3 separate regions of the Homo sapiens genome follow, and all the other regions are linked to region 3. Evidence: promoter capture Hi-C in 16 types of primary human blood cells and fetal thymus (Javierre and others, 2016). All regions are on one chromosome and are shown on one strand. The core of a region is centred on a gene start or on the middle of the fragment in contact, and the rest is flanking DNA. Distances in the headings are between cores, read along the strand shown.

Region 1 (3,088 bases), core at 474-2,973, 690 kb before region 3:
ACATTAGTGATTCCGCATTACCTTAAAGATAAAATTCAAACTCCTTGGATAGCGTATGAGGCCCTCATGGCCTTGTCCCATTCCACCTCTTCAACTTCATATCACACAGTTCCCCTATAACTTAGAGTTGGTAATCCCCTTCCTGCCCTCCTACTTGTCCCTCCAAATTGCCATTTGCATATACTGCTCTCTCAGCCTGAAGTGTCTTTTCTTCCAATTATGTATGTTTAATTAATCCTTTAAGTCTTAGTTCTTACACTTCCTTCCTTGATTACTACCATGAAGCAAGGAGTCTTACCAGACTATCTCCATCTGGAGGAAAAAAGAACTACAAAATATCCAAAAGACTTATTCTTTTCTACATGATTGCAGTGTTAAAGTACAATTAACTTGTATTTCTATAATTATTTGTATTATAGAGACAGCTGTACAAAATTGTTAGTATAGGAAGGATACTGTGGATATCAGAAGGTATGATGGTTACATAGTAATGTTAGTATTCCTTGTGTACACCTGTTAGTTTTGCAATCTGTTTTCTTAAGTATTTGTTTAAATTTTTGTGGGTACATAATAGGTGTTTGTATTTATGGGGCAATGTGATATTTTGATACAGGCATACAGTGTGAACTAAGCACATCATGGAGAATGGGGTTTCCATCCTCTCAAGCATTTATCTTTGCAATCTGTTTTGAATTATTATAGTTCTAACTCACTGTTATTTAGAGTGGAATTAGATGAGAGGATATTTATGAAATGAAAAAAGGCTGTTACATTGTAGTGAAGTAAACAGGCAAAGGGCTGTAGACTTTCATATTAAACCTAGGGCGTATAGAAATTTTTAACTTAGTGTTGTGTTTATAGGCATGTCTGTTTTTTTTTTTTTTACAAAAATAAATTTGGACGCTAAGAGCAAGCACTCTCCAATATGTACCAGCACAATTTTTTGGAGTGATGATGGATACTGCTCCTTTGTATATCATCAATTGACTTAATACCGGTGTGATTCAAGTGTAGATTAAAGCTTACAATGATACTGATGTGGTGTCTTATGTTACAGATGTTAAAATAACTGATAGCATTAGAAGACTCTTGACAAGAAAAAGAAAACATTACCGATGCCTTACTATAACACTATTTCTAATTTGTACAACACTTTGACAAAGCAGTTTCACTGAATCTCACTAAAACCTTATGGGCATTGTAATCTTCATTTTACAAACGAGAAAACTGAAGGTCAGAGAGGAGAGCATGGAACTAGTAGGGGATCACACAAACAAGAAGTTGAGCTGGGACCAGAATAAAATGCTTTTGACTCCCAGTTTAGTGGTCTTCTCATTACACTGCTTTACATCTGATATTGATAAGGATTTTCTAAAAGATAAAATTATTACTTTTTAAACAGCTGCTTGGCTTTTGATTTACCCATTAAGTTTACAAAATAGAAAACAATTATGCTACTGTCTTCCATATTATACTTAACCACATCTCTCTCAATTTTTAGAGAAGAGAGGCAAAACCATTAATAAATAAAATAAGTTATGATATATGATAATAATGAGCTTCAGACTCATTATTTGATCAGTGCTGTGACACACAAAGCTATATGTACATCTTTGACTCCACCTCTATCAATGCCTCATGATTATTCTTATAGAAGACTCTCACTTTAATAAGAAAAATCAAATAACATTACATATTTATTATTACTACATTAAAACCCAGAACTGTCTTATTAACTTTGCAGTGATTCTTATTATTAAAAATATGAAGATACAAGTCTGCATGTAAAAGGTTAAATTTTTCATGACCTGCAAATCTTTCTTATTAGAATATTTTCATTTCTAGCTATCCAGAGGAAATATATTATTACTTGATTGAAATTGACTGAAGCCTATCAGCAAACTCTAAATGGCAATTCAACAAATATTTCCTGAGTTCTTACTATAAATAAGGCATTGAGCTAGATTGTGAGGGATGTAATCTTTTATAAGAAATAAATCATGCTCTTGAGATGTTGACTTTTTTAAACACCTATTATTATCAAGTATACTTTACCAGGGTCCATGAGTTACTTATCTCAGTGCTCTTCTCCAGTCTCCTTTTAACTGAGTTTCTTGAATTTTAGTATATTCTCACTAAATGGCATTTTTTCTAGAAACCAATTCAACAAGGAATTGGAAAACTCATTCTTTTTATTCAGCTACCTAAAAATAGAGGATAATACACGCCTCCATAAACAACTTAAAAATAGTCAACATAGAAGTACAATATAATATGCCAGAATACAGGAAGACTTCCTAAAGGAGAAAAAGATTTTAAAGTAGGAAATAGACAGTCCTTATATGTGATCATATTCAGAAATATTTAAAAAAGAGACATACAATAAAAATTAAAAGTTGGGAATGTGAGAATTATCAAAGCTTGAATTCAAATCCAGACTTCCATCACTTACTATTTATGTGCCCTTGATAGATGCCCTTATTCCCTGTTTTAGTTTGCTCATGGTAACATTAAGGGTTGGGAGTCACGCTAATAGGAGTGAGCGTTAAAGCTAATAAAACAAAATCACTACCATTTATTAAGCATGTGAGAAACTCAGCCTGTAAGCCCTATAGTTACTGATTACCTATAATCCACAGAAGGGGGCAGTATAGCATAATAAATCAGATTGTGAGCTCCTGTTAGAGACTTGGCACTGAAGGATTACAAAGCCTTGAAATGGACCACTTGGGACATGACCAGTGAGCACCAGAAGGCAGCCATGAGGGACTGCTGAAGACTACATAACCCATTTTTTTTTTCTGGACTACTTAAACCTGGTTTAAGCCTGGCAGTTCTGTGTAATGTTAGAAAGCTGCAAGGAAAAAAAAAAAAAAAAAGACTGACTTTTGATTTCCCACCAATCTTGCCTGGGGAACTGAGACATTTACATACTACTTACCTGGTTTCAAACATTATTGTAAGTATTTTACATAAATAACTCATTTAATCTTCACATCAGCCTTACTATTGTTCTTCCATTTCACAAATGAGGAAACTGAGGCTTAGAGAGGTGAAGTCACTTGCCCAAAGTCACACAACTAGAAAG
Region 2 (3,067 bases), core at 321-2,820, 520 kb after region 3:
GGTGGGTGGAGGAGTAGGAGAGGGTCTTCTGCCAGCATCACTTTGCTAAACTAGTGTCCTCTTGTTCCAGGGAGGCTGTGCTGGATGCTTTTCTGGATGATGGCTTCCTTGTCCCCACATTTGAACAGTTGGCAGCTTTGCAGATAGAATATGAAGGTAGGGTTCTGGGGGCTCACTGCACCCTTAGGGTTCTGATTCCTGGGTGGAAACAGCTGGGGTGGGCTGGGGGGCCCTGGGTTGGGGTGTGAAGGCTGTTTCCTGCCATTCCATGGCCTCTGAAAGTCCCTCAGCCTTCCTGGCTGAGCAGAACAGGTAGCCCCACTGACAGTTGTGGGGCTGCCCTTAAGTGCTCTGGAATGGGGTGGGGTGGGATGGGGTGGGGTCGGGGAGTCTTAATGACATTATTGTGCCATGTTCGTTGTGATTTAGCTGCTAGCTAGAGAGCTAGAACAGCAGAATTGGAGGGGCCTTGTGAGGTCATCTAGTCCAACATCCTCATGTTACAGATGGTCAGACTGAGGTCCAGAGAGGGGAAGGTACTGACCCAAAGTCACACAGTGAGTTATTGACAAAGCTGAAGCTAGAACCAGATCTCTGTTTTGTTTATACTTTATTTTGAGTCAGTTGTTGGTTGCCAGATACTAACTGGTTTCTCTCTCCCCACTGTTCTGCTCTCCTCTTTCCTTTGTTCTGCGGTGGCAACTCTGTTGTTGGTGGGGGGCTTGGCTCATGCGCGCGCACACATTCTCTTGCTCTCACTCTCACTTCCTTTCTCTTGCTGTCTCTTGCTCTCTCTTTCGTGCTCTCCTGCTCTCTCTCTCCTATTGCCCCCCCAAATGGGTGTCCCTTACAAACCAGAAAACGTGGACTTGAATGACGTCCTGGTGCCAAAGCCGTTCTCTCAGTTCTGGCAGCCCCTGCTCAGGGGCCTGCACTCCCAGAACTTCACGCAGGCCCTATTGGAGAGGATGCTCTCTGAACTGCCAGCCTTGGGGATCAGCGGGATCCGGCCTACCTACATCCTCAGATGGACCGTTGAACTGATCGTGGCCAACACCAAGACTGGTGAGGGAGACTAGCCCTAGCCCTAGGGCCTAAGGCAGCCCAGGCAGGAGCCTCTGCCACTGTCCTCAGCTCTCTGCTAAGAAGCACCAGGCAAACACCTCCCGTGTTAAAGGTTTAGGTTTGCCCAAGAGGGCCCCACGGCAGCAGTGGACAAATCTCCCTTTTCCTTTTCTTCTCAGAGCCAACTAAACTGGGCTGGGGCAAAGTGCCCTGAATTCTTTGAGCAGTTGGGAGGTATAGGTGGGGAGTCTGGGGGGATGGGGAGGGACAGAGCCAAACTTTCTGAGGTGAAATGTTGGGTGGGGGGCTCACTGCTTCCTTCTCCTTAGATCCTCTCTTCTCTCTCAGGACGGAATGCTCGCCGATTTTCTGCAGGCCAGTGGGAAGCAAGAAGGGGCTGGAGGCTGTTCAACTGCTCCGCCTCCCTTGACTGGCCCCGGATGGTTGAGTCCTGCTTGGGCTCACCTTGCTGGGCCAGCCCCCAACTCCTTCGGATGTAAGTCTCTTGAATTCCATCCGGTAAGAGGGTGAGGCCCTTCAAGCCTCAGGGCCACACTGCCCTAGAATGACTGAGTTAGAAGGGCCCTTTGGGGACAGTCTAGCCCAGTCTCACTCCCACTGACAGATGGGACAACTGAGTCCAGAGAGGGGAGGGGTAGGGTTTTCTTACCTAAGATCATACAGCTTAAGACCTGACTGAACTGAGTCCAGTGTGGGAATGGATAAGACAATCCCCCTAGAGTGCTTAGCACAGTGGCCTGCACAGAGTAAGTGCACAATAAATGGTAGCTGCTGTTTATTATTGAACCCAGGTCTTCTGACTCCAAGCCCAGTGCTGTTTCCTCTATTATCTTTCCAAAGTATACCTCTGATAGTTGCTTAGCAACCTTCAGTTGCTCCCTATTGCCTTCCTGTTAAGTCTAGGCTTCTTAGCCTGACATTCAAAGATCTTTCTGATTCTGGCCCAACTTACCATGGTAGCCATACCTCCTGTGAGTCTCCTTTACCCTATCCACCCTGGGTTCTATGGTCAAACTGAATATTGCACTGGTAAATACCTGTGGTTGTCTCCCTTTCCTTTTCTCTGTCATTTCCTGACCCTGAGCCACTTCCCTCATAATCATGGAAGCCTTTAGCGCCTGATTCCCTTCTTGCTTTCTTGAGCAATATCTGTTTCATTTGGATGACTCATCTGACACTCTACAGCTCCTCAACTCCAGTGACTTTCATTCTCCACTACACTCAGCAACCCATTTCCATCATTCGGAGCTATTCCACCTCTGAAAGCTCACATCCCAGCATCCCACTCGGTGACCACCACTTCTCGTCCTTCTAGTTCTCACCCTTGCATCCCATGACATCTGCTCTTTGCCTGCATCCAGATCTCCATCCCTCCATTTCCTGCATCCCTTGACCTTGCTTCCTCTCTATCCTGTCTGTGGTTGCTCAGTTCGGCCACTCATCATCAGCACCTTCAGCTTTGCCCATCCTTTGGCCATATCTGACTTGCAAACCCCTGAGCTGGAATTGATCCTCCCCATTCTGCTTCCCCTGCTCCTCAGCCCGGGTAGCTGAGCTCTGCTGGAGAAAACCACATAGCCCTGCGGATTGCTGCCACTGCAGAGGTATGATTTTTAATCTCGGGCGAGGCCTCAGTTCTGCTTGTCTGAACTTTTACTTGTTTTCTGACCACTTTCTCTCCCATTTCCTCACTATTCTAAACCCTTACCGCTCACCTCAAGCCCCTCCCCCTCTCCCATTTCACCCTAGCTTCCTCGAGCACATGGAGGCATCCGGCAGGGCCCCCTCGACCTGAGGTCCAGCCCTCGTGAACTGATCTGCGGCTGCACTCAACCTTCTCGCCAGTCTCAGGATGAGGTGGCCTTGCCCCACCTCAAAGCCTGCTCCTCCACCTGTGCTCTGGAGCCACCTCTGCCAGCATCGCTGGGGCCTCACCCCAGCCTCTACCTTGCTCTGCTGGCTCTTGCTCTTCAACCTAGGA
Region 3 (3,176 bases), core at 454-2,953:
GAAGTAGACACAGAGCCAGGCTTATCTCCAGGTTTCTGACTTCTCATCCAATTCTTTTACTAATCAAGAGGGCTACTGAGCCTACTGCAAGACTGGAAGTCTTTCCCAGCCTTGAAGTAATGTTGTGCATACTCCCCAGGACATTTATTTATCTTCAGATCCAGGAGGTCCTAATAAAATGCAAGAGGTAGCACAAAACACACAATCACCTGGCCAGGCAGAAATTTACATCTGTCCAGTGGGCTTTTTAGCGGGGAAGGGGAGGGGTGTGTGTGTGTGTATGTGTGTGCGTGTGTGTGTGTGTGTGTGTGTGTGTGTCTGTGCGGTGGTGGTGGTGTAGTGGTGATAGGGTGTTGGTTGAAAAATATCAAAGGAGGGTTCTGTGAAGTTCAGGGTTTCCTGAGTGAGGACCCGGTGGGAAAAAATGGCTGAAATTTCCAGTGAGATGGAATGAGTGCAGTACTCAAAAAACAAGGAACAACCAGCCAAGGGGGATTGGGCCCTAGAGGCAGAGGTGATTGATAGAATTCCATGTAATAATGTGTCCTGAAATGCTGGAATGTCTCCTTAGCCCGTGCACAGCTCCAAATCATCTGCATGCAGCCACCCCTTGGCAAGTATGTTTCTTTATATTCCCACTCCCCATCTCTGCACAAACTCCTCCCTCCCCTGACCAAGTCCTTTCCTATCCCTCCAATCAAAGAGTAAACTAAGCTTAGCTGTTACTTACAGTGCAGTATGAATTTTTGGGATGTATTTGTGCTTTTGAAAGTGCTTATTGTTTCAAAGCTTAGTAGACAAAGCGCAGTGCCAAACCTAGTTAGACTGCTGATGAAATTACAGTCACTCTGGGGCCTGTGAAGAGGAGCAATTTCTGGAGCAGTTGAGCTTTGCTAGGAGGCATAATATTACTCTCTTGTAGGTCAAGGGCCTGTACCAATTGGAAGTCAATGAAAAATTCAACCTAATACAGCATACCACTAATGGGCTGCTGCACTGGAGGCTAGGCTTAAATTTCCCTTAAAAGAAGTAAAAAATAAATTCCTTATGAAAAAGCATGGAGAACATTAATGAAAATGAATTCTCCCTTACCATCAGAGAGGTGGAGCCATTGTAGAAAGTGATTCAAAGAGCTTCCCCAATATGAGATATGAGGCATATTCACCCATAACAGCCTTATCCATTGGCTTGTCAATTATTCAAGCTTTGATGTGTAGAAAGCCCTTTAATACACTAAACTCTTGTACTCTTAAGCCCAAAAGCACCCCGGGCCCAACACCCTGTCCAGTTGCATAGGCTGCACAGGCAAGGGTTAACAGTACAACTAATGAAAATTGGGTAGGTCAGCAAAGTTGATCTCTTCTCCCTGGGCTCACCACAAAGGAAAACACCGCCATACTGGAGTGGGAAGACTCATCCCAAAGGTCGCCCCCACAACCTCTGAATCTTGTGGAGGAGACTCAAAATAAATACAGCCTAGGAGATCAAAGACCAGAAAGCCCCATTGGCTCCAAGGAAAGTCAAGTCAATACCCTAGCAGGGGGAAGAATTGCTTCACTCATCCTGGAACCTCCAACCCCAAGGAGGTGGGGGAAGGGGGGCACCCCACATGACCTGTACTGAAATAGGGAAGGAAGGGGAATGTGTGATGGGACTAGGAGTTTGAGTGAGAGATATAGGGAAGGAAGGGAAGTAAGCAGTCACAGACGCTGGCGGCCACCAGAAGTTTGAGCCTCTTTGGTAGCAGGAGGCTGGAAGAAAGGACAGAAGTAGCTCTGGCTGTGATGGGGATCTTACTGGGCCTGCTACTCCTGGGGCACCTAACAGTGGACACTTATGGTAAGGCAGAAAGGGGGGCCTGGCTGCCATTGCTGGCTTAGGCAAAAGGCTAGAGGGTTGGTGTTTAATGTCTACTATGGAAAGCCTATTCCTACTGGGCAGGTGAGTCTTCTCAGCCAAACTCTGCAGGCTCTCTCAGCCTTGAGCAAAACGGATGGATGTAGTTGAAGGCTGCTGAAGAAGCCAGAAGGCAAGTTTGGGCAGAAATTGAAAAAGGATTTTTCTCTTGGAAAACATCTGCATTATTTTCTAGGGCTTGTATCTCAGGGGCATCAAGAAGGTTCCCAATGACATCCGAATCTTTCCTCCATCTGCTGTCTCTCATCTAAAATTCTACAATTGGACTTAACCACTCTGCTTCCAAGCTTTGGTCTCTGTTAAAATATACAGCCCCCGAAGAAGGAGTGTTTTCTAAGAGTTGGATAGGACTATAGAAGTAACCTATACCACCCTTCATTGTCATGAATAAGTGCTCAGAAACATCCAGTAGTGATTGAGATTTCACTGTTCACTACCTCCCCAGACCATCTAGTCCATCCAGGAGCAGCTCCAACTGTTAGAAAGTTCTTATTTGTGTTGAACTAAATCCAGTTCCCTCTGACTTCCATCCAAAAACCCCAGCTTTGCTTCTTGGGGCTACACAGAACATAGATGCTTCCTTGCCCTGTGATAGCCCTTCAAAGCCCTGAGGACAAGTACTATGTCTCCTTGACTCTTCTCTCCTCCAAGCTGAACAGCCCCAGCTTTTTCAACTGGTCTTCATAGGACTTGGTTTCTTACCCATTCCTGGGATAACTCACTTCCCTATAGACATGGCTCAATTTGTCTGGGCTATTTATGGGCTGGATACAAATCCCAAAGGAGGATGGACTATTCCATAGTGGCATTATTTCCTTGGAGCTTGGGAAGCTCTATCCTCATCTACACTCCTGAGAAGTGAGATGGATTTTCAGGAAACTCAACCTGGGTAACAGCTAAGTGAGATCCAATATAGGGTAAAGGGGGATTTTGCTGCTTCCCTATCATCCCTAGAGAAAAAGGCTGGATAGGTGTTAGCTTGGTGTCACTTGTTAGGTCAGAAAGAATCCAGCTTTCCGTAGCTGACTCTGATTAGGTTACCCTATCCTGGGGCTCTGTGACCCATCACACTCTGGAACCTCAGAGTTAGAAAAGACTCTGAATTAAGTCAACCAAGAGAAAAAATAATTTGCCCCCAAGCCAAAGAGCATTAGTGGCAGAGTTAATGCTCCTGAAAAAACATTTTTCTTTCTATAACTACCACATTTCCATTCTCTAGCAGGTTTTATAATGTATCTCTCTACCTTCTCCAAGTCTGT

What was found. Contacts are between HindIII fragments. The CHiCAGO score rates a contact against its expected background, and 5 or more counts as called.
Region 1: a contact is called between a fragment that was not itself captured here and the fragment with the promoter of VSIG4 in region 3, in 6 of 17 cell types (endothelial precursors, M2 macrophages, fetal thymus and 3 more). The highest score is 8.4, in endothelial precursors.
Region 2: a fragment that was not itself captured here is called in contact with the fragment with the promoter of VSIG4 in region 3 in 4 of 17 cell types (activated CD4 T cells, non-activated CD4 T cells, monocytes and 1 more); the score reaches 7.3 in activated CD4 T cells.

What each region holds. Positions count from the first base shown.
Region 1 is chrX:66,731,165-66,734,252 of GRCh38, reverse strand. No RefSeq gene overlaps it. Among named protein-coding and RNA genes, the nearest start is that of EDA2R, 94 kb to the right of the region's middle. The HindIII fragment of the contact is 1,399 bases long and covers 1,024-2,422 here.
Region 2 is chrX:65,522,054-65,525,120 of GRCh38, reverse strand. It overlaps LAS1L (LAS1 like ribosome biogenesis factor), which reads left to right. Exons shown (of 14, transcript NM_031206.7): 8 at 71-156; 9 at 507-557; 10 at 859-1,065; 11 at 1,414-1,561. Among named protein-coding and RNA genes, the nearest start is that of LAS1L, 11 kb to the left of the region's middle. The HindIII fragment of the contact is 4,278 bases long and covers 1-3,067 here.
Region 3 is chrX:66,038,607-66,041,782 of GRCh38, reverse strand. It overlaps VSIG4 (V-set and immunoglobulin domain containing 4), which reads left to right and starts at 1,703. Exons shown (of 8, transcript NM_007268.3): 1 at 1,703-1,839. The coding sequence starts at 1,785. The HindIII fragment of the contact is 1,000 bases long and covers 1,207-2,206 here.